7 separate regions of the Homo sapiens genome follow, and all the other regions are linked to region 1. Evidence: promoter capture Hi-C in 16 types of primary human blood cells and fetal thymus (Javierre and others, 2016). All regions are on one chromosome and are shown on one strand. Each heading gives the region's core, a stretch centred on a gene start or on the middle of the fragment in contact. The rest is flanking DNA. Distances are from core to core; before and after follow the strand shown.

Region 1 (2,700 bases), core at 63-2,562:
GCAAAGTGTTCTTTTTCTCAACTCCCCTGTACTACCTTGAAGCTTAGGGAAGCAAAGAGAGGGGCATATCTGGACTGCAAAACCAATGTCTTTTGCCGCCTAGGAGAGAAGGGAATGAGAGAGAGAGAGAGATAGATAGATAGAGAGAGAGAGAGAGAGAGAGAGAGAGAGAGAGAGAGAGAGAGAGAAATTCTATTGAAACCCAGCTCCTCTAGAATCTGTGTGACCTGGTCTTCAACGGGAGACCAGTGCGACCTCATGGCACCTTTGCCAGGAATCAGCGATTCCCCTGCAGTCACCATTTGATTTATTGCTTTCTCGCTCATTCTTTCTCATAAAGTTATTTCTTCCTCATCCTAGTAAGACTTTTTTCTTTAATGATGACAAAGCTTCTGTTTCAGTGTTTCCCCTAGGATTGGTGCTCTTTCAAAACAGTGAACCCAGAAAACCATCCCGTTTAATATTTCTCAAAATCCTCGCAGCTCCAATGTAAGCGCAAGCATGCAAAGGTTTCCTGCTACACCTGCACTTTCTGCCCATCCCAGAACCACCCCTCACCCCCGGGCCTGCAACAGTTCCCCTTGTTTCTCTGGATAGAGGTGGGTGGTATTAGGGGTCTAGGGCAGTAGGAGGTGAGGGGCTGAGGAGGCGCGCTAGGGTAGGCTGGTCTGTGCTGGATACGCGTGTTCTTCTGCGGAGTTAAAGGGTCGGGGACGGGGGTTCTGGACTTACCAGAGCAATTCCAGCCGGTGGGCGTTTGGCAGTCACTTAAGGAGGTAGGGAAAGCAGCGAGCTTCACCGGGCGGGCTACGATGAGTAGCATGACGGGCAGCAGCAGCAGCCAGCAAAAGCCCTCGCAAAGTGTCCAGCTGCTGCACTGCCGCGGGGACTCCCACAGCACCATGACTAGTTCGTGCAACTCTGCAGCAGCAAACGGCTTCCGAGGAACACAGGATCGCGGGGGCCGGGCAGCGGGCTACTGAGCATCCCGCGGACGGCGGCAGCAGAGGCGGCGGCGGTGGCAGTGGCACCCGGCGGGGAAGCAGCAGCCAAACCCGCGCATGATCTCGAGAGTTTCAGCAACATCCAGGGACTGGGCTCAGCCCCGGAGCGAGAGGGTCGTCCGCTGAGAAGCTGCGCCGGAGACGCGGGAAGCTGCTGCCATAAGGAGGGAGCTCTGGGAAGCCGGAGGACAGGAGGAGACGGGAGTCCAGGGGCAGACGAGTGGAGCCCGAGGAGGCAGGGTGGAGGGAGAGTCAAGGCGCCCCGCAGCCCGGCAGCCGCCTCTCGAGCTCTGCCGCCCGCATCCCTCTGGCGTTTGGGAAGCAGCAGGTCCTCAGCCCGCCCGGGGTCACGTGGGAAGAGGCAGTCGGGCTCTGATTGGTGGAGCAGGATGCAGGTCCCGGGAGGGAGGGGTCGACGAGGAGGTGCAAGGATGCAAGGAGGAGGCGGCCGCGGAAGCCACAGATGGGCTCGCTCGCCAGGCGCTGGCCCGAGTGGGGCTAGGCGGGGATGGCTCAAATGAGAAGCTCGGGCTTCAGGGTGGGCTACCCGCACACTCATATACCATTCGCCTCACTCTCCGCTCCAGGACGCCCCCTACCGAAGGCGGGGTCCGGACTAGCGCCCCTCTTCCGCGCGTGACCCCGGGCCGCGAGTGCGGGCCGCGGCTGGGTGGCGTCTCTCCGAGCTGGAGATGGTGGGGGCGGAGGTGTCAGAGGAGCAGCAGCAGCAGGGCAGAGAGGGGCGAGTCGGCGCGGGAGAGGGCGTCCTGCTGGCGACCGGCGCTCCAGCGTGCGGGAGCGCGCCGCCTAGGCTGTAGGGGGATGCAGGCTGGGAATGTCGCGGCGGAGAGGCCAGGGACGTTTCTCTAGGGATTTACAGGAAAGAGGGTGAGAGGCGATGGTGTTAGAACCGCTCTTGCCGACCTGGAAGCAACAGCAGCATCTCCCACAAGAGCGTGCAACCCCAAGGCTGCTCGCCGAGGCAGCTCAGCCATCCCGGCAGGCGCTCTCCTTCCTTCTCTCTTCTCCCCTCTCTCCTCCCAGGCCCCCCGCAGCTCCGACCCAGCCCAAGCGTTCGCAGGTTTGAATCCCTCTCCTCATCACCCGCTCCTCTCCAGCCCGTAGCCTATTAGTGTGTCCACCTGGGAGGTGCGGTCAGATGTGTTTGGAAGGTCAGATTGGTCGGGACAAGTGGTCTGAGAGAAAGAGAAAGGCTCCTCTGCATACGCCGCGGGTGGGTTGCCGGGAGCATCGGCCGGGCAGCGGCGTCCGGGAAGGGGAGAGCGGGCTCCATTTGTTGGCCCAGGCAGTGACCCTGCGTTCCTTACTCGGGTCTTTGCCGGATGGCCGGTGACCTGGGGCGACGAGAGAAGGTCTAACTCGGCAGGAGTCTCTGGCTCTGCGCGTTTCTTTCATTCTCTCCAGCGGGAAGGGCAAACGGCATAGCGGGACCCGCCTTCCGTCTGCTGCATTCTTCAGGCAGTTAGACACACTCTTTAGCCTAATGGAATTTTAGTCGCCAGTAACGGGACCAAGAGCTTTCGGGGACAAGGGTGGAGAGGAACATCTTTCTTCCATGACCGGGGTCACTATTGCAGTCTCAGTGTTTTGGATGCCCCATAGGGAAGAGCTTTCTTTTTGGTGTGTGATTATTCAGTGATTCCTGTTTTTGTTTTTGTTTATCTTCTCTCCGCTC
Region 2 (2,700 bases), core at 173-2,672, 370 kb before region 1:
CTACTCGGGAGGCTGAGGCAGGAGAATGGCGTGAACCCGGGAGGTGGAGCTTGCAGTGAGCCAAGATGGCGTCACCGCACTCCAGCCAGAGAGACAGAGCGAGACTCCGTTTCAAAAAAACAAAAACAAAAACAAAAAAGAGGAAGGACACAAGGATATTTTCATATGCTTATAAATTGGCTATGTCACCGCTTTAAGTTGGTTTAATATGTTGGTTTAAAATTCAGTCTTCTTCTCTAATTATTTCTTGCCTCCCTCTAGAAATAAGCCAAGATTCCTTGAACTAGAACTGAAACTAGAAGTTCATTATTAGCCTCTCTTAGTTGTTTGGCTAGTAATTGCATGATTAGACTAATACTTTAAGTCGTCAAGGAAGATTAATCACTTGTGAATAAGTAATTATTTTTGTAGATACGACTGTGGGAAAAACAGACCATTGGTAAAACGGAATCCTTAAAATATAGTTAATCCTTAATTATCCATGTTCATAAAAAAGGAAAAGATCCAAGAGATATTTCAGCAATAACCTGTATATGTTATTAACATGCATTTATATGTTTTTAGAGCAGGTTTTCTTCTATAATTAAAATATTTAAGGCTAACCTGAAAATTACTTTACATTCTCTGAGTTTTTACCAATTAATGACAGTGATGTCATCCAAAAATACTCTGGGTGTTGAAGGTCAGTCTAGAAAGAACTCTTTTACTGCAGTTGATTGACTAAGTAAGTAAGCAAGCCTCATCTGAACACTTGAGAACCCTCTTCAAGCAGGAAAAAATGCAACAGACCAACAGCTACCAAAAAAAAAAAAAAAAAAAAAAAAAGGTGCAAAAGTCCCGTCTGTGTCAGAGGGTCTTTGTATCACAGAGTGGTAATTATTTCGTTGCATATGTAAAATATTTGTTGCATTAAGTCATGAAGATTCCAAAACCATGTAATATGAAATCTATATTGAGAAAAGATGAAACTGTATGTTGGAAGGTTAGCTGCTTCCTTTCCCCAAGAGTTTTCCTCAGGGTCATCCCAAAAATGTGCAGGGCCTCAGGTAAATAGTTTTTGTGGGTCCTCTGTCTGTATAAACAATTTGATTTAAAAAGTGTTACAAAGTTTATTCTTCAGAAAATGGGTAAAGTGGAGCTACTTACACATTCGTTTATTGTCCAATCATTGCTTGTAATGATTCCTTATATCAGCCAGTAGATTGGCATTGTATCTTCTGGTTCTTTATTGTCAAATGTGTGGTTCCTGGCTAATTTCATATCTTCCACCATGTGAGAAACAGGTAGCAATGCTGTTATTATTCACAATGCAACGGCTCTTTAGATTCTGTTTGTGCTGAAACAGTATAGACCTCTGCCTCTGCAGTTCTCTAATACCATTTATTTAATGCTGGTTGCATCATTACTCATGAGGCTGCATCATTCATATTGTCACCCATGACTACTGGTTTCTCATGACTGTCTCAAAGGCTGTTACTACGCTTTGTTGATGATGACCACAAATGCAAATCTTATCCAGCATATGCAGAAAAATGTGAATGATACATTGTTTTCTGGTCATGTAAAATTTACTGTATAGAATTTTACAGCATGTAAACTTAGAATACTGTATTTTCCAGTATGTCTTCTGCTGAATGCTTTAGGCAGTGGCCACTGTATTCCTACAATGTGATCTCTTTTAGTGCTGGCTGTATGTTTGCCTTCCACCACTTCTACCAGTGGGGAAAATAAGTGAGGGACCTACAGAGGATAAGAAGAGTGGTCCCATTTGCACAAGAAATGTCCATCCCTTGTCTAGCATGGCTCAAGACCAGCCTGGCACATTACAACATCAACACATGATGTAAGGCAAGAGAGAAAATGGATCTGAAGAGTCACGGGGTAAAGGAGAGCAAAGATCTTGAAAGCTCTTTGTGCAGATGGGCAAGGCCACCCCAAAGCCTGACCCATGGTGTAGAGCCTGTGGAGGAAGTAGAATGACAGCTCTAGGTAGAGGATACCTTGTGCCATCCTGGTTCCTTCATACACTGGAGGTGGCACCGCAGTCTAAAGAGCTATTATGCCAGCTCACGTGTGTGGCTTAAGCCCAGGAATCGGCAGAGTCCTGAATTGTTCTGTGTCCCTCCAAAGTCAGGGTCACTGTCACCCTAAGACAGCATGTCAGCACCATTCCAGAGGCCCAATTTTATCCAATCTTTCACGGTCTCATATAAAAACTATTCTCCTGGGCAGCAGTGCTTTCCTCCTAGAGGTTCTTTGGGGAATTTGGTTTACCTCATGCATGAGGCAGATAATAATTTAATTTTTTTTTTTAAGTGACAGGGTCTTGCTCTGTCACCCAGGCTGGAATGCAGTGGCACAAACATAGCTCACTATAATCTCGAACTCTTGGGCTTAAACAATCGTCCTGACTCAGCCCTGAGAAGCTAGGACTATAGGCACATGCCACCATACCCAGCTAATTTTTTAATTTTTTGTAGAGATGGGACCTTGCTATGTTTTCCAGTCTGGTCTCAAACTCCTGGCCTCAAGTGATCCTCCTGCTTTAGTCTCCCAAAGTGCTGGGATTATAGGCATGAACTACCACGGCTGGCCCAGGTAGAGGCTTAGTGAGTGCTCTGTAGAGGAGAAATGGAGACATAGGTCCTGATCTAGTCTGAGACTTCCCGACCAAATAGCAGAGGGGCTGGTGCCAGGCAC
Region 3 (2,700 bases), core at 159-2,658, 480 kb before region 1:
TTTTAACCTTATGCCACTTCATCATTTGTTCTAATTTTATCCTAACCAAATCTACCTTCTAATTATACTTTGGTTCCTCATCTAGTTTCTAGGGCAGAAGAAAAATTCCTTGTGAGTAGCAGATCCCTTTACATTGTTTGTTATTAAATTGTCACTTCTGAGTTTCCACAGTGTTGAGTCATCACCCTCACCATTTATCCAACCCTGGGGTGCAGGCAAGACTGAATTTCCCTCTTTATAAGACTGTAGTCCAGTCTCTGCCTGGGGGTGACCTACCAGGTCAAGGGCTCCCTGCTAAGCCCGCATGGTAGATAGGTGACTGACCTTCCTCCTGATATGTTCTGGCTTTTCCATGACCACTTCTGCTCTCTAACGCCAAACATACCAGGCAACCACGCATTCAACAACAAGGCCTCTAATTTGCTAGGAGGGTTGTCACAGACTGCAAGGATTAACAGCTAGAACATTTTTCCACTTGGGGAACTTGAAGGCACCACACAAATCCTATTTACTTCATTCACTCATTTGTGTGTGTGTGTGTGTGTGTGTGTGTGTGTGTAAAATCATAAAGTTATTCTTAATCGCTATAGGAAAAAAAAGAGAAACCAAACAAACAAACAAAAACTGTTAATGTCCCTATGCAGAGGCAATATGCACTTTGCCTGCATAGTTTGCACTTTTGCCTATTTCTTCCTAGGCAATTTCATTTCTACTTTAAATTTATATGAAATTTTAAAAGCTTTATTATCTGGTTCTCAATACCACTGTAGATTAGAAGTAGCAATTTAGAGAAAGAGAAGAAAAAGAAAAGTCATAAAAAGTAGATATAATTTTTTAAAGTGAAGAGTGCTCTGGGGTCACACACAGCTCAGTAATCCTGAGGTCAGTCACTGCATTGTGACTGATGTAATAATACATTTATATCTTGATGACCTCAAATTGTCATTAAATGGTTAAATTAATTTTGGTATATATCTTTTAAAAGTCAGAAATACAAAAAAATACACTTTTCAACTATATTGTTCAAACTGGTTAAAAAACATAAGAAGTGAACCCTTAGCTGTCTAGAAAACCTAGCTACAGAGAATTATTCCTTTTCACTGGGTTACAAATAAACAAGATCCTATAGTTAAAACTACTGGTTTCTTCCCAGTATCCATTCCACCATTCTTCTGCTATTTAGAAGCCATGCTCTTGGTGGGACTGACCACACCTCTGGCTCCAGACATAGGCTGTACTTGGCCTAAGCTACTCATGATAATCACATCTGCCTGCCAGAGTAACTAGTCCAGGAATGAGCCTGTAGCCATGCCGTACACCAACAGCTCATAGCATTTCTCTGATCACAGGGATCATACATCTGCAAATTGGGGTAGACACTGGCCCCAATTTATCAGTCAGAATAAAACCCTTAGCTTCTGTTCGGTGGCTGTGGAAGAGAGGCTCTCTTCCATCATCTGAGATGCACATTTGAGTCCTGGAACTACAGCAACAATTATCTTACCATGAAAAAGCCTGCCTGAGAATTAAAGCAACCCATGGAAGACAGCAGAGCTGAGGGAGATAGAAAAGAAGCCAGAATCCTGAAATCTACTCTATATCTGGGCTTGAGTCAATAATTGTCATCTGTGTTTAGGCTGTTTTGACTTGCAAGAAAGCACAAATGTTGTACTGTGCTTTGATGGAGGTGATGGTAGGCCATCAGCAAGTACATGTCCGGCACTTGTGTTACGGACATGCATCTAAAGTTCAGGACACCAACTGAGGATGGGCTTGAGTAACATGGAGGGAGATGGTAGCATGCCACACAGGAGCTGCTCAATATGTAAATATTAATTGAGTGTGTTTTGAGTAATCAGAATGGGTTGGGACTTGCTGGGGGAAAAGATAAGATGGAGACTAGAGATCTGAAGACTGAAAAGTCACTTAGGATCGGGAGAAGTGGGAACTAGTGAAGGAGGCTCTGGAGTAGATAGGAAGTGAGCTCTAATATTGCCACATTGTTGTGCCTAATGAGAGAAGAGAACTGGTGAACTACAATGTCAAATCCTTTAGAGACACCAAGAGAATCAATAGACAAGCTTGGTAATTTGGAGGCTATTGCTGACTGGGTGGAATGCATAAAAACCAACAGTAAGTGACTTTGAATGTTGTTAGGTTTATGATAAATATGGTATAAACAAAGTTTCCCAGAGACACTGGCCCAACAAAATATAGTCACAATGACAGACACAAAATGGATTTTTTTTTTCTGGTCCTGCTTCTATTTGCTCTGTAGATAAATCCAGAGGATTAAAAATTCTTCACACCTTTCTGGGGGACTCCAGAGTTTTTTTGTATTCATGACAAACCACTGATTCCAAGTGGTATCTGCCGTTTTCCTCCTCTCCTCAGCTGGCTCTCTGTGGGGACAGGTGATGCTTACAAAGGTACACAGTAAAGCAGAGAGGTGACTCCTGGGAGGCTAGCCAGTCAACAGCTGTAGCCAGTCAATGTCCGTAGCTTATGGCATTCATCCTGGAAGTATGACACCACCATCAGGATGTAGCTAGTCCCCAGCTCTGGAGCTCAGAAGTCTCCTTTCATCAGCATACCAAGACAGGGCTATCCCTTTGGTGGGGCCTGGATTAACCTAGCTCTCAGAGACTTGTCTCCTATGGATCCATTTGTTAAATTTTAGAGAGCAATACAACCGTCAAG
Region 4 (2,700 bases), core at 151-2,650, 410 kb before region 1:
CCAAAGTGTTCACTACAGATACAGTGACCAACTGTCTGAAACCGCCATGCCACCCTCTTGCATGATTGAAATGGTGACATAGACTTAATGTCTTCACAGAATTGTGGTACTCAAATCATAATGCCTTTCCTTAAAATAATGCGAAGTATTTTTCTGATATACATGCCATATCTGTGTATGGTATACCAAGGCTAAGAAGTTACAGAAAGCTGTGTAAACAGAATGCTTCTGCGAGTAGGCTGAATCTCAGCAAGCTGACATAGTGTACCTAGATTGCTGTTTCATGGGCTAGAGTTAAACTATGGAGGACATGCTAATCACGTGTGCTGATGACACATAACTGGAAAGACTGGAGAATGTGTGAGGTATCCAGGATTCTCTAGTGGGAAGGAAATATTGCTTATTCCAGGTACTTCAGAGAAAAGAACTGGTACTAATGGGCAGAATTTATAAAGAGGCACATTTTTGCTTTCTATAAGGAGACACATTTTCCAGCAACTAGAGCATGTGCATAAGCTTTCACCATGAAATGGTAAGCTCTGCATTACTTTACTGTTCATTGGGAAATTGAGAGCACACTTGCAGCTCTTGTGGTTTTATCTTTCAGCAAAAAGCATCACAACAAACTAAAAATTTCCCATAACATATATTAGGTTTAAGCATATGAAAATGCTGCTACTCAATCATTTTTGACTTACAAAAATGGCAATTTCATGTGATTCAATCTAATGGAAATAGAATAATACCCTGGAGTAGAATATGAAATCTATTTTAGATCACTGATTGGAAGGGCAACCCTTAAGCTGTTGCCATCCATCTTTATGTAGGCAGTGTGGGTTGCATAAACCACAAAGTTGTATTTTGTTCCTGGAAACTGCTAAGAAGACTTGATAAGAGAAGAGCTGCTATTCTAAGAATGAGCTTTTCTTCCAACTCGATCAGTTTATTTTTTTTTCTTTTTGGGGTTGGGGGAGGTGGCACCTCCTTCAAAAGTAAGGATATATCTCCAGAATATCTTAGTTTTTGTTTTTGTTTCTGTGTGGCTTTTTTTTTTTCCCAGGAAGCCGCTGTTTATTTTGAATCTGTGTTACTTTGTTGGGAAATTAGCTTCCTACTTTTACAATCAGGGAAGTGGCTGCACTTTCTTCTATTGGCTCTATTTACTCTTTCAAGTATCTTGGGGATCTTCTAAATTTTAGCATTTTGGGATATTTTTCTGTTTTATCCATGATGTTTATAGTTTTCTACACTATTAATATGTATATTCTTGACCTCTAGCTTTCTGGAATTTGAAAGTCTCAATCTCTTTAATTTGGTCCCTACTGTTGTCCTGATATTTTTAGTTGTCTTTCATGGGCATTTTAAGTTCTAGCTATACAGACACCACTCTATTCTCTTTACTTTCACTCTGTAGTGGCTACTCTTGCTCCTTCAGATCTAAAGAGCATCCTTGACTTCTCCTACACTAGGTTAGGCACACTTGCAATGAACTCCCAGAGCAAAATATACTTCCCAGATCATAATGCTTTCCTACTATCTGTTTTTTTTTTTAATTTTACAAATACTTGATAGCACTTTTTTATGTGCTGGACACTTCTTTAAGGGCATTACAGTATTAAGTTATTTGACCTTCACAACAAATATCTGAGGTAGAACCATTACTGTCTCGATCTTATCAATGAGGCTAATGAGGTACAGTGAGGTTAATCAACTTTCCTAAGATTTCAGCTAATCAATGAGGGGGCAGGATTTGAACCAGGGTGTCTGGCTCCTGACGTCCTCTTTCCCAGCCTGTTTGCCACCACATCCAGCTGGCTCTTACTTTATGCTGATTGCCTGTTTAATGGTAATGTCATAGGCCCCCTTTCTCTCTAGCCATCATGTCTATCTCAACCACTGTCTGCCTCCATGAGATGGAGACTTTGTTCCCTGTTGAATTCTAGTACCTTCTAAGACAATGTTTAACACTTAGTTGGTGATCAAAAACCATTTTTTTTAATAAATGAACACACATATGTTTCTGTAAACAGTCAAGGATGGTAATATTTCTAAGAAGAATGAAATAACTGCAACATCTTTTAAGTGCAAGTCAAATGTGAACCAGCTATACTGGAGGAAAAGGGAACTTACCCTGACAAGCAGTATTTTGAAAATTTCAAATGTCTAAAAAAGATTAAAGCTAAAGGGGATTTCATGGTCGGTATCAGACAGTTCAATTTGAAGCAAAGCTGTTGCTATTCAAACTCTCACCACTTCCAGCCACAGGAAAAAGCAGACGGTTGTGAAAGCTTGCAGGCTAGAAGGAAATTCTAATTTTTTGGAATGCCCTGAAGAAGGAGGTAGAGTTGTAGACTCTGACTACTTTACTATAAGACTGATAACCCTGAAAAAATATAAAAAACACATAAAAGAGGGCACGAGCCTGATTAGAGGACCAAGTTGGAGCTGTGTTATCACAGGTCCTCAAGAAATCAGCAGGGCCAGAAATGAGGCAGGCTGCAGGCAATTACAGATTGTCATTAAAGTTAAAAACATGACCCACAGCACTGTTGCTGTATCGCTTTAGGCTACTAAAGCTCCATGCTGTCAGTTATGACACAAAGCACGGGAAAGGACAGTCAGAATTCTATGCTATTTCTGCATTTTTTAACAAAAGTAAAAATTTGTACAATTCTCTACAATTAAAATAAGTAAGCATGG
Region 5 (2,700 bases), core at 111-2,610, 470 kb before region 1:
GCTGTGATATGAAGGGATCTTATTAGAGCTCGGAACCAGGAGGAATTTTTCTTTCAAAACAGACCAGACACATTTCTAATGTAATAGAATAGTGTGTTTCTCCAAAGGCAACTCAAAGAGAGGGCTCCTATACTTTAATTCTTTAAAAAAAGTATCAACAAATTAGAAATAAGGCAAAGGGATGGCTGAGTGTCCTTTCTGTGTCAGACTACAACACTGTCTAACAGGATTACTTAATTCTTTGGGAGATTACCCTTTGTTTAACAGATGATTTATTATTGATTAGGGCCCAGGTTCTGTGAAATTACATGTTAATGCATAGAGTTTTGTCTGGTAGAGAAGCAAATGATTTCTGTTTAGTAGAATAATATAACCCGAAAGGTTATGGTTTTATTGCTCTGTAAAATATCAACCAATTATAGATCTACCCTAGCAATCTTGTTGCAACATTGTTCCTTCAATTTCTGTAACTGCTTAGTTCTCCAAATACTCTTTGGAGCTTTGTCATCCTACTGGTTCCCTTATTGGTAAGTTATGTAAATTTTGATACACTTTATATTTATGAGTCATAGTCATAATATTTAATTTAATTTAATTTTTTTTTTTTTTTTTGCTGTCACAGTTTTCATTGTTTTTACTACCTTCCTACTGCCACCACCTGGAAGAGTAGAGGGTTGCCCAAAGCAGAAAACGTTCTAACTCTAAGCGCTAAGCTCCTAGTTATTTGGATTTCCATATATTTTTCTTCTTCATCTGTGTCCTACCCCCTACTTCATGGATGTCTGTTGTAATGATTGAGTCCAATTACAGTAGATTATTGGGATTTGAGGCTTAAACATTTGCAGTTTTGACTATTTTCAAGCAACTTAACATGTAATGATTTGCAATTTTGCTGAGGAATGAATTTCGGTTGCAGGCTTTGCAATATTGATGTGTCTGGAATGACTCACAGAAGTAAGGGGGAGGGGTTCAGCAACAGTCTCTGAATTTTAACTTGGCTATGTTGTTCTACACTCATTATCATGCACACTAGCGCTCCTGAAGTGATAAAAACTTTGTTTCTTTGTGTAAAATGGGCTATAAAAGAAAATCATCTGCTAGTGTTGCTAATTGTAGTAAAGAGAAAGTAAAGAGGTCTACGAAAGCAATGATTCTAAGCCACAGAACAGAAGTGTTGGAGGTGCAAAGTACACCATCAATTCACAGTTAACTCAGCAAAGAATCATGAAAAAGTGTTTATCTGTGCTAATAATCAATGACCAAATTAAAATAACATATTTTATTTTATTAACTTGAAAAAAATCGATAAGTATTGGTGTTTCAAGGGTTTGAGAAAGGTTCTTGTCGAAGTTAGAGCAATATAGTGGAAAGATTAATGAATTTATATTCAGAATGTCTGAGTTCAAGCTCTTCTAATTAGCTATACAGCCTGAAATTGTACCTGAAATCTGTGGGTTGTAAATTCCAAGGGGACATTGTTTATTGATTTGTTGCACATGTTACATGAATTTGTAGGTTTGAAGTTGGCCAATGAATATTACAAAGATCCCTGCCCTTAAAGAGCTTTTCTATTGCATTATAGGATAGGGAGGTAGGGAAAAGAAAGATGGTGAGTAGACAGCAAAGGAATAAATAAATAAACAATTATCTTAGAAGAAGATAAATGACATAGAAAATAGAAATGAAATACGGTAAGTAAAGATTGACATTACGTGTGTGTGTGTTGTGTGTGTTGTGTGTGTGTGTATTTGTACAGGTGTGTTGTTGCAGTGTGTCACTGCAGTAATAAAAAAGGTGGTGAAGGAAAAACTTCATGCTATGGTGACATTTGAGCAAAGTCATGAAAAGAAGGTGAGGGAGTTAACCAAGCTGGAAATCACATCCAGGAGTGGAGAACAGATAAATCATAGTGGCTAAACTGGAGCCTGCTTGGTCCATGTTCCAGGAGTAGGAGGGGACCAGTGTGGCTGGAGTTGAGTGATTAAGGGAAAGAATAGTTGGAGATGAGGTCAGAGAGATGAGTGAGATGGTATTGTCAGCCTGTAAGGTCTTGTAAGCCATTGTCTTTTATTCTGTGTGAATGGGGGGAGAAAGCAGGGGATTTTGAGCAGAAGAGTGATATACATGTTTTAAAAAGATCATTCTGGATGCTTTGTTCAGATTAATTTGTAAAGGGGCAAGGGTGGAAATGGGAGAACTGTTCAGAGACTATTCCAGTAGCCAGGTGAGAGATGCTGGCTTAGACCACATGGCAGCAGAGAGGTGGTGAAAAGCATTCAGATTCTGCATAGATTTGAAAGAACAGCCAGCAAGGTTTGTGGTTGAATTACATGTGGCTGTGAAAGAAAGAGCAAAGTCAAAGAGGACTCTAGGGTTTTTCATCTGATAAATGTGGAGTTGCCATCCACTGAAATAGAGAAGGCTGAGGGTAGAGCAGGTTTTGGCAGTAAGACTAAGTATTCAGATTTTAGCATGCTGTGTTTGAGATGCTTATTTTACATCCAAGGACATACAAATCAGCAACTTCTAGTTGGATTTGTAAATTTAGAGGTCAGTAGCATATCACTGGTTCTGAAAGCCCCAATACTGCTATGATACCAAAGAGTAATTGTAGTTATAGAAAAGAACAGGATCAAAGACTGAGCCCTGGGACACTGCAACATAAAAGAGTTAAAGGAAGAACCAGCAACGAAAATTAAA
Region 6 (2,700 bases), core at 104-2,603, 390 kb before region 1:
ATCGTTAAACAGCAAGAGGATAGCTGGGTGGAAAATGTGTCATTCCAGGATGGAGTTGAACCTTAACTCTGCTGTGAAATGGTATAAAATTAGAAAAGGAGAGCATTAAGTGTTGACCTAGAAGACTGAAGAAAGGTTATAACTTCATTAGAATACATTTTTTTTTGAATGGGGTAAATTTTATATGGGATTACAAGGAGGATGGGGACTATTATAGATATTTATTTAAACTATTGGGAGTAATAAGGAAGAACACTGAATAAAATGGCAACAATCGCCAGAAGTAGCTCTATTTATTTTCCCAGGGTAAAGACATTTGCTTGGAATAAAATGGATTTCTGAATAATCACCTTCATCCTAAATGAGTCTACCTGGGAAGAAAAAGCTATTAAGCCATCAATGTACCCCCTCCTCCTTCCTCACCTAGGTATTAGAACAAAATGTTTGCAAACCAATGACCTCATTTTCAGGTAAGGATTGTAAGTTAACAACCTTGCTTATGGAACCTCAATTTGCAAACATATTTCAAATATTTACCTAAATACTTAAGTCTCTAAAATGTCAATTGTTTGAAGATGAGATTTTGAGGACCATGAGGCTATATAAAGAAGTACATGATAAGGCTACTTTGGAGATGTGAATTTGCAAAAAAAAAGTGTCTGAATTTGCAGTTGTTTCAACATTCAATTGTGTGAATAAATTAAGTATTCTAATTTCTTGTTCTTGCTTTGCATATGTAAATATGGTATTTTGTACTTGTGGAATTATTTAGATAATTGGAGAGTTGGATGCTGAGCTCAAATATCAAATCTTTCAAAGGCACATTTGGTTGAAAAAAGAGTCGGACAATTTTTTTCTTCTTTAGTTTTTTGAGTTTTGAGAAAAAGAGTCCTTTTGGTCAACTTATTTTGCTACCAACCTTTCAGAGAGAAATGGCAGTTTATGTGTGGAAATTAATGAGTCAAGGAGAAAACATAATTAGTGACTTAGAAAGGGAAAGTGAGATTAATGTGGAAAAACTCAAATGCATATGTGCCACACACTCTGCCACTGGGCAGCATCAGGGAACTGTGTGCTAAGGGGAAGTCTTAGGTCAGGTGTTGATTGGCCATTGATTTATTCAATAAATATTTATTGAGCACCTAATATATAGCGGGCAGTCTGTTAAGTGCTGGTGATTCAGGAGTGAGTGAGACAGATGAAACTAGGGCCCAATGGAGAAGACCCAGAAAAATGATCATCGAAGGGTGTGGGCCCACTAGAGTGAATTGTAGTGTTGACCACGAGGTGAGTACACTTTTCATTTCTACCTCATTGGCTCCCTGTTAACTAGGGAAGTTTCTGAAAAGGTCTTATGGAACATTACATACCTCACAGTTTCCCTGGACCTTGCAAGGCAAGGGTTGGGTTGCAGATGATACTCAGAGAATGGCCCTTCTGAATACACAGCCACGTGCTGCATGATGACGTTTCTATCAATGATAGACCACATATATGACGGTGGTCCCATAAGATTATGATGGGGCTAAGAAATTCCTATCATCTAGTGATGTAGTCATAGTAATGTCATAGCACAATTGCTTAACTTTAAAAATAAATTTAATGTATCCTAAGTGTACAGTGTTTATAAAATCTACAGTAGCGTACAGCAGTGTCTTAGGCCTTTACATTCACTTATCACTCACTGATTGACTCACCCAGAGGGACCTCCAGTCCTGCATACTTCGTTCATGCTAAATACTGTAGACGGGCATATCATTTTTTATCTTTTACACTGTATTTTTACTGTCTCTTTTCTATGTTTAGATATGTCTAAATACATAAATAATTACTGTGTTATAATTACCTACATTTTTCAGCACAGTAATAGGCTATACAGGTTTGTAGCCTAGGAGGAATAGGCTATGCCACCATAGAGCCTAGGTGTATAGTAGCCATCCCATCTAGGTTTCTGTAAGTACACTATATGTTGTAAGAATATTTCGTTCTCACAACAACAAAATTACTAATGATGCATTCCTCAGAACGTATCCCTGTCATTAGCTGATGCATGATTACTTTGGTGATCTAGGTTTTGTGTTTCTCAAGCAGGGTCAGACCATTCATGTTGTTAACAAAGAGTTATTTAGCTTCTTCTGGGTTCCAGGAATGGTAAGGTTGCGATGGTGATGAATCATTCATAGACCCTGCTCTCATGGGTCTTCCAGGCTAGTGGGAGGGATAGATATTAATCAAATAGTCAAGGAAACAAAGATGTGATTACAAACTGCGATTCGAAGTATGAAGCTCTGCAAAAGCACAGAACGGAGTCTTTCATACCGTGCTGCGATCTGAAGGGATGGAGAGAGTTTAGTAGGGGAGTGGGAGGGAGACGCACATTCCAGAAAAAGGCCCGTTTATGACAATTCCTGGGATTGGGGAGGAATAAGGCCGTTACGGCTGGACTGCAAAGAATTTAACAAAAGAGACAAGATTATGATCAGGGAACATAGATACAAACAGATGGAATCCTGCTGATGCTAGCTGGGTGGCTGGAGATTTCTAGCAAGCACAGAGAAGCTCTCTGCTTCTAGTCAAGAAAGGGGCTATGCAGGAACATTAGATAACTTGTTTTTTCAAAGTTAGGTTAACATTAGACAAATTTACTGAATGGGAGTATTTTGTTGTAACACTTTAAATCCAAATGGAGTATGATACTAT
Region 7 (2,700 bases), core at 61-2,560, 440 kb before region 1:
GATCCTTTCTTTATTAGGAGCTGTTATTAATTTACCACTGGACTTTCTGTTTGAAAAAAAAATTGATTTTCTTGGATCAAACATTCTTCTGTTTAAAAAATTGCCCATACAAGTTGTAAGGGTTAAAAGTGTGTTAGAAGTTAGGAAGAGATACCTCAAGTTTCATTAAAGTATCCAATTAGTGAGATTCAGCAGTCCATGAAAATATTTATCACATTCCCAGCTCAGCTAAGACCCTATCTGCTCCAATTTTCCTTGCACAGAAATCACAGAAATCTACATTTGCTGCTTCACATTCTAGAGAAACAGGTGAAAATGGAGGGGGAGGGAGCATCTCATTTTTCAAATGTTATGTTTGCTGCTTGAATTTTAGTTTTGGAAACGGATTTTGAGGTGAGAAGAAAGGGAATTCAAGTCTTTCCTTTGCCTTGAAGTTTGTTCATAATGGTGTTGTCTCTGTTTCTGGTGAGCTACTGTCAACTCCTATCTGGGAGAGATCCTGCCAGGTCTTTTCCTTGAATATAAGAAAATATATTTTCTTATATTCCTTGAATATAAGAAATATATTTTCTTATATTCCTTGAATATAAGAAAATATATTTCTTATATTCCTTGAATATAAGAAAATATATTACGTTTTCTTATATTCCTTGAATATAAGAAAATATATTACGTTTTCTTATATTCCTTGAATATAAGAAAATATATTATGTTTTCTTATATTCCTTGAATATAAGAAAGGAAATTTGCAAATTAAAGATTTTTGCTAAGAACAGAAAGTGGCCCACAATGGCGTCATATTATGTTTTTGGCCCTCAAATTGTAAAAGTGTTCCTCTTCATTGGAAGCAGGCCTTACTGTGTACCCTGTGCTCTCAATTTCTGTGTGTCCCTGGCCTCTATAGGGCCGCTTGGGGGCTGGCAGCCAGGCTGGCTCGATGCAATCAGATGACACTGAAAGCCGATTGGAATCATTCCTCAGCTCGATGTCAGCAGGCCGGGCACTTAATGCAGGATGCACTTTTATTTTAATAAGTAATTTATTTAATGAGCCGACAATGGCAAAATGTCAAATGTAGAGACTTCGAGGATGAATAACACAATTGCAAGGAGCAGGAAGTCTACTAGGCTTGCAATATTCGGTGCCTTCAGAAAGGACATTCCTTGAGCTGGTTTCAAAATCAGTTGGCAACTGATCTGAAAAAGGATCTTTGCCATTAGTCTTGATAAAAGTAATGCTGCCCACATCAAGTTTTTAGAGTTAGTAATATGAGAATGGCAGGTGCCAGGTGTAGAGTGTGGGGTAGCATGGGGGGTGGTCCTATTTTGAGAGGAGAGTGAGGCAGGAGGCATACAGCTGGCTCCACGGAACATGCTTCCACCTGCCCATCTAGTCAGTGTGAGGAAGGGCGAGAGGAGCAGACCCCTCCACTAGGTGGCAGTGACTCGGTTTCGCTATCAATTAGGGAAGTGTCCTGGGGTGACTCACTTTAGACTCAGATATTAGTTTTCTCATGTTAAACAGACGGACCTGAATTGGAAGAGGTTTACCTTCCTTTTCAGATACTGAGATAGGATTTTTCCTAACATAATATCCTCTCCAGTGTACAAGTTGTGCTCATTAATTCCTCACTGCTGGCTCTGATTGGCTATGAGTTCAAATCCTATGAAAGTGAGGTCAATTAACCTAAAGATAGACTACCAAGGTTTATAGTAATTCTATTGATCCAACCTTAATTTAATAATTATCTATTGAGTACCCACTAGGCAACAGACACTATTTAAGTCAACAGACATATAGCAATGACACCACAGGGTTTTAAAAAAGTCCCTGTTATCCTAAAGCTAACTTTCCATTAGCTTATTGAAAATGATATTTTTCAATGTGAAGGAGCTAACTCACATTTGGAATGGGTGTTCCTTCTAGGAGTCCGTATCAAAATTATCATTTGTATTTTTTGCCCGATGGGAAGTTGTATTGTGAACTGTGCTATGGCTGATGTGTTTATCTGGCGTATTCTTCAGTTATTCCAACTAGTTTCTATGTCCTATTTTAGAATTTAATTAAAATTCATGTGGTTTCATTCTTCCCTTCTGACTCTGGAGGGCTCTGCAATATGCTTGTAATCCTTTCTAGGCCCACAGCAAGGAGGAAAACCTGTTTCTACTTGAAGTTGGGGTTCTGTGCTGAACTTGTTCTGTGTTGTCTCCCTCCTGGCAACGGTACGTAACTGTGAGATACTGATTTGCGCACAGTGCTGTCTGGCTTTGCTTCTAAAAGGAATAATGTGCATGGCTGGTCTCTGATTGATGTGTGGGAGCTGCCATTTGGGGGCATAAAACACTTTATTTTCCATCCTGCTTAGAATTCTAAGGCTCAATGGCCAACATCTGCCATCCTTCACTTTGAAATTTTTAAATTACCTTTTAAAAAATGATTATAACAGTAATATTATTTATTATTAAAAATTTAGCAAATATAAAAAGTGTAATGAAGAAAATAAAAATAACTCATAATCCAATGGCTCTGAGTTAACCATCATTAGCCTTCTATTTGCATATATTTTATAATACATGCAGTTTTAGACCCTGTTTATATTTTGTCCTCAGCAGTCTATTGTGAGAATAGTCTCAATATTATTAAAAATCTTTAAAGATCAAATTTTAATGGCTGCATAGTATTCAATCATATAGTTTTATC

What was found. The method cuts DNA at HindIII sites, captures the fragments that hold promoters and counts their contacts. A CHiCAGO score of 5 or more calls a contact.
Region 2: a contact is called between a fragment that was not itself captured here and the fragment with the promoter of TMEFF2 in region 1, in 3 of 17 cell types (endothelial precursors, megakaryocytes and M0 macrophages). The highest score is 7.8, in endothelial precursors.
Region 3: a fragment that was not itself captured here is called in contact with the fragment with the promoter of TMEFF2 in region 1 in 3 of 17 cell types (naive CD4 T cells, total CD8 T cells and megakaryocytes); the score reaches 6.5 in naive CD4 T cells.
Region 4: a fragment that was not itself captured here is called in contact with the fragment with the promoter of TMEFF2 in region 1 in 2 of 17 cell types (endothelial precursors and megakaryocytes); the score reaches 5.4 in endothelial precursors.
Region 5: a contact is called between a fragment that was not itself captured here and the fragment with the promoter of TMEFF2 in region 1, in 1 of 17 cell types (activated CD4 T cells). The highest score is 5.3, in activated CD4 T cells.
Region 6: a fragment that was not itself captured here is called in contact with the fragment with the promoter of TMEFF2 in region 1 in 3 of 17 cell types (endothelial precursors, megakaryocytes and M0 macrophages); the score reaches 8.6 in endothelial precursors.
Region 7: a contact is called between a fragment that was not itself captured here and the fragment with the promoter of TMEFF2 in region 1, in 1 of 17 cell types (megakaryocytes). The highest score is 7.6, in megakaryocytes.

What each region holds. Positions count from the first base shown.
Region 1 is chr2:192,193,621-192,196,320 of GRCh38, forward strand. It overlaps TMEFF2 (transmembrane protein with EGF like and two follistatin like domains 2), which reads right to left and starts at 1,313. Exons shown (of 10, transcript NM_016192.4): 1 at 733-1,313. The coding sequence starts at 904. RefSeq lists an enhancer at 1,259-1,834. The HindIII fragment of the contact is 4,792 bases long and covers 388-2,700 here.
Region 2 is chr2:191,823,162-191,825,861 of GRCh38, forward strand. No RefSeq gene overlaps it. Among named protein-coding and RNA genes, the nearest start is that of CAVIN2-AS1, 22 kb to the right of the region's middle. RefSeq lists an enhancer at 2,587-2,700. The HindIII fragment of the contact is 3,647 bases long and covers 1-2,700 here.
Region 3 is chr2:191,710,575-191,713,274 of GRCh38, forward strand. The region is part of intron 3 of LOC124908062 (a long non-coding RNA gene); the gene reads left to right. Among named protein-coding and RNA genes, the nearest start is that of NABP1, 34 kb to the left of the region's middle. The HindIII fragment of the contact is 1,342 bases long and covers 738-2,079 here.
Region 4 is chr2:191,786,045-191,788,744 of GRCh38, forward strand. The region is part of intron 2 of LOC105373812 (a long non-coding RNA gene); the gene reads left to right. Among named protein-coding and RNA genes, the nearest start is that of CAVIN2-AS1, 59 kb to the right of the region's middle. The HindIII fragment of the contact is 1,772 bases long and covers 515-2,286 here.
Region 5 is chr2:191,728,487-191,731,186 of GRCh38, forward strand. The region is part of intron 3 of LOC124908062 (a long non-coding RNA gene); the gene reads left to right. Among named protein-coding and RNA genes, the nearest start is that of NABP1, 52 kb to the left of the region's middle. The HindIII fragment of the contact is 4,709 bases long and covers 1-2,700 here.
Region 6 is chr2:191,802,741-191,805,440 of GRCh38, forward strand. All of the region lies in intron 2 of LOC729254 (hCG2045843), which reads left to right. Among named protein-coding and RNA genes, the nearest start is that of CAVIN2-AS1, 42 kb to the right of the region's middle. The HindIII fragment of the contact is 3,576 bases long and covers 1-2,700 here.
Region 7 is chr2:191,757,674-191,760,373 of GRCh38, forward strand. No RefSeq gene overlaps it. Among named protein-coding and RNA genes, the nearest start is that of NABP1, 81 kb to the left of the region's middle. The HindIII fragment of the contact is 4,933 bases long and covers 1-2,700 here.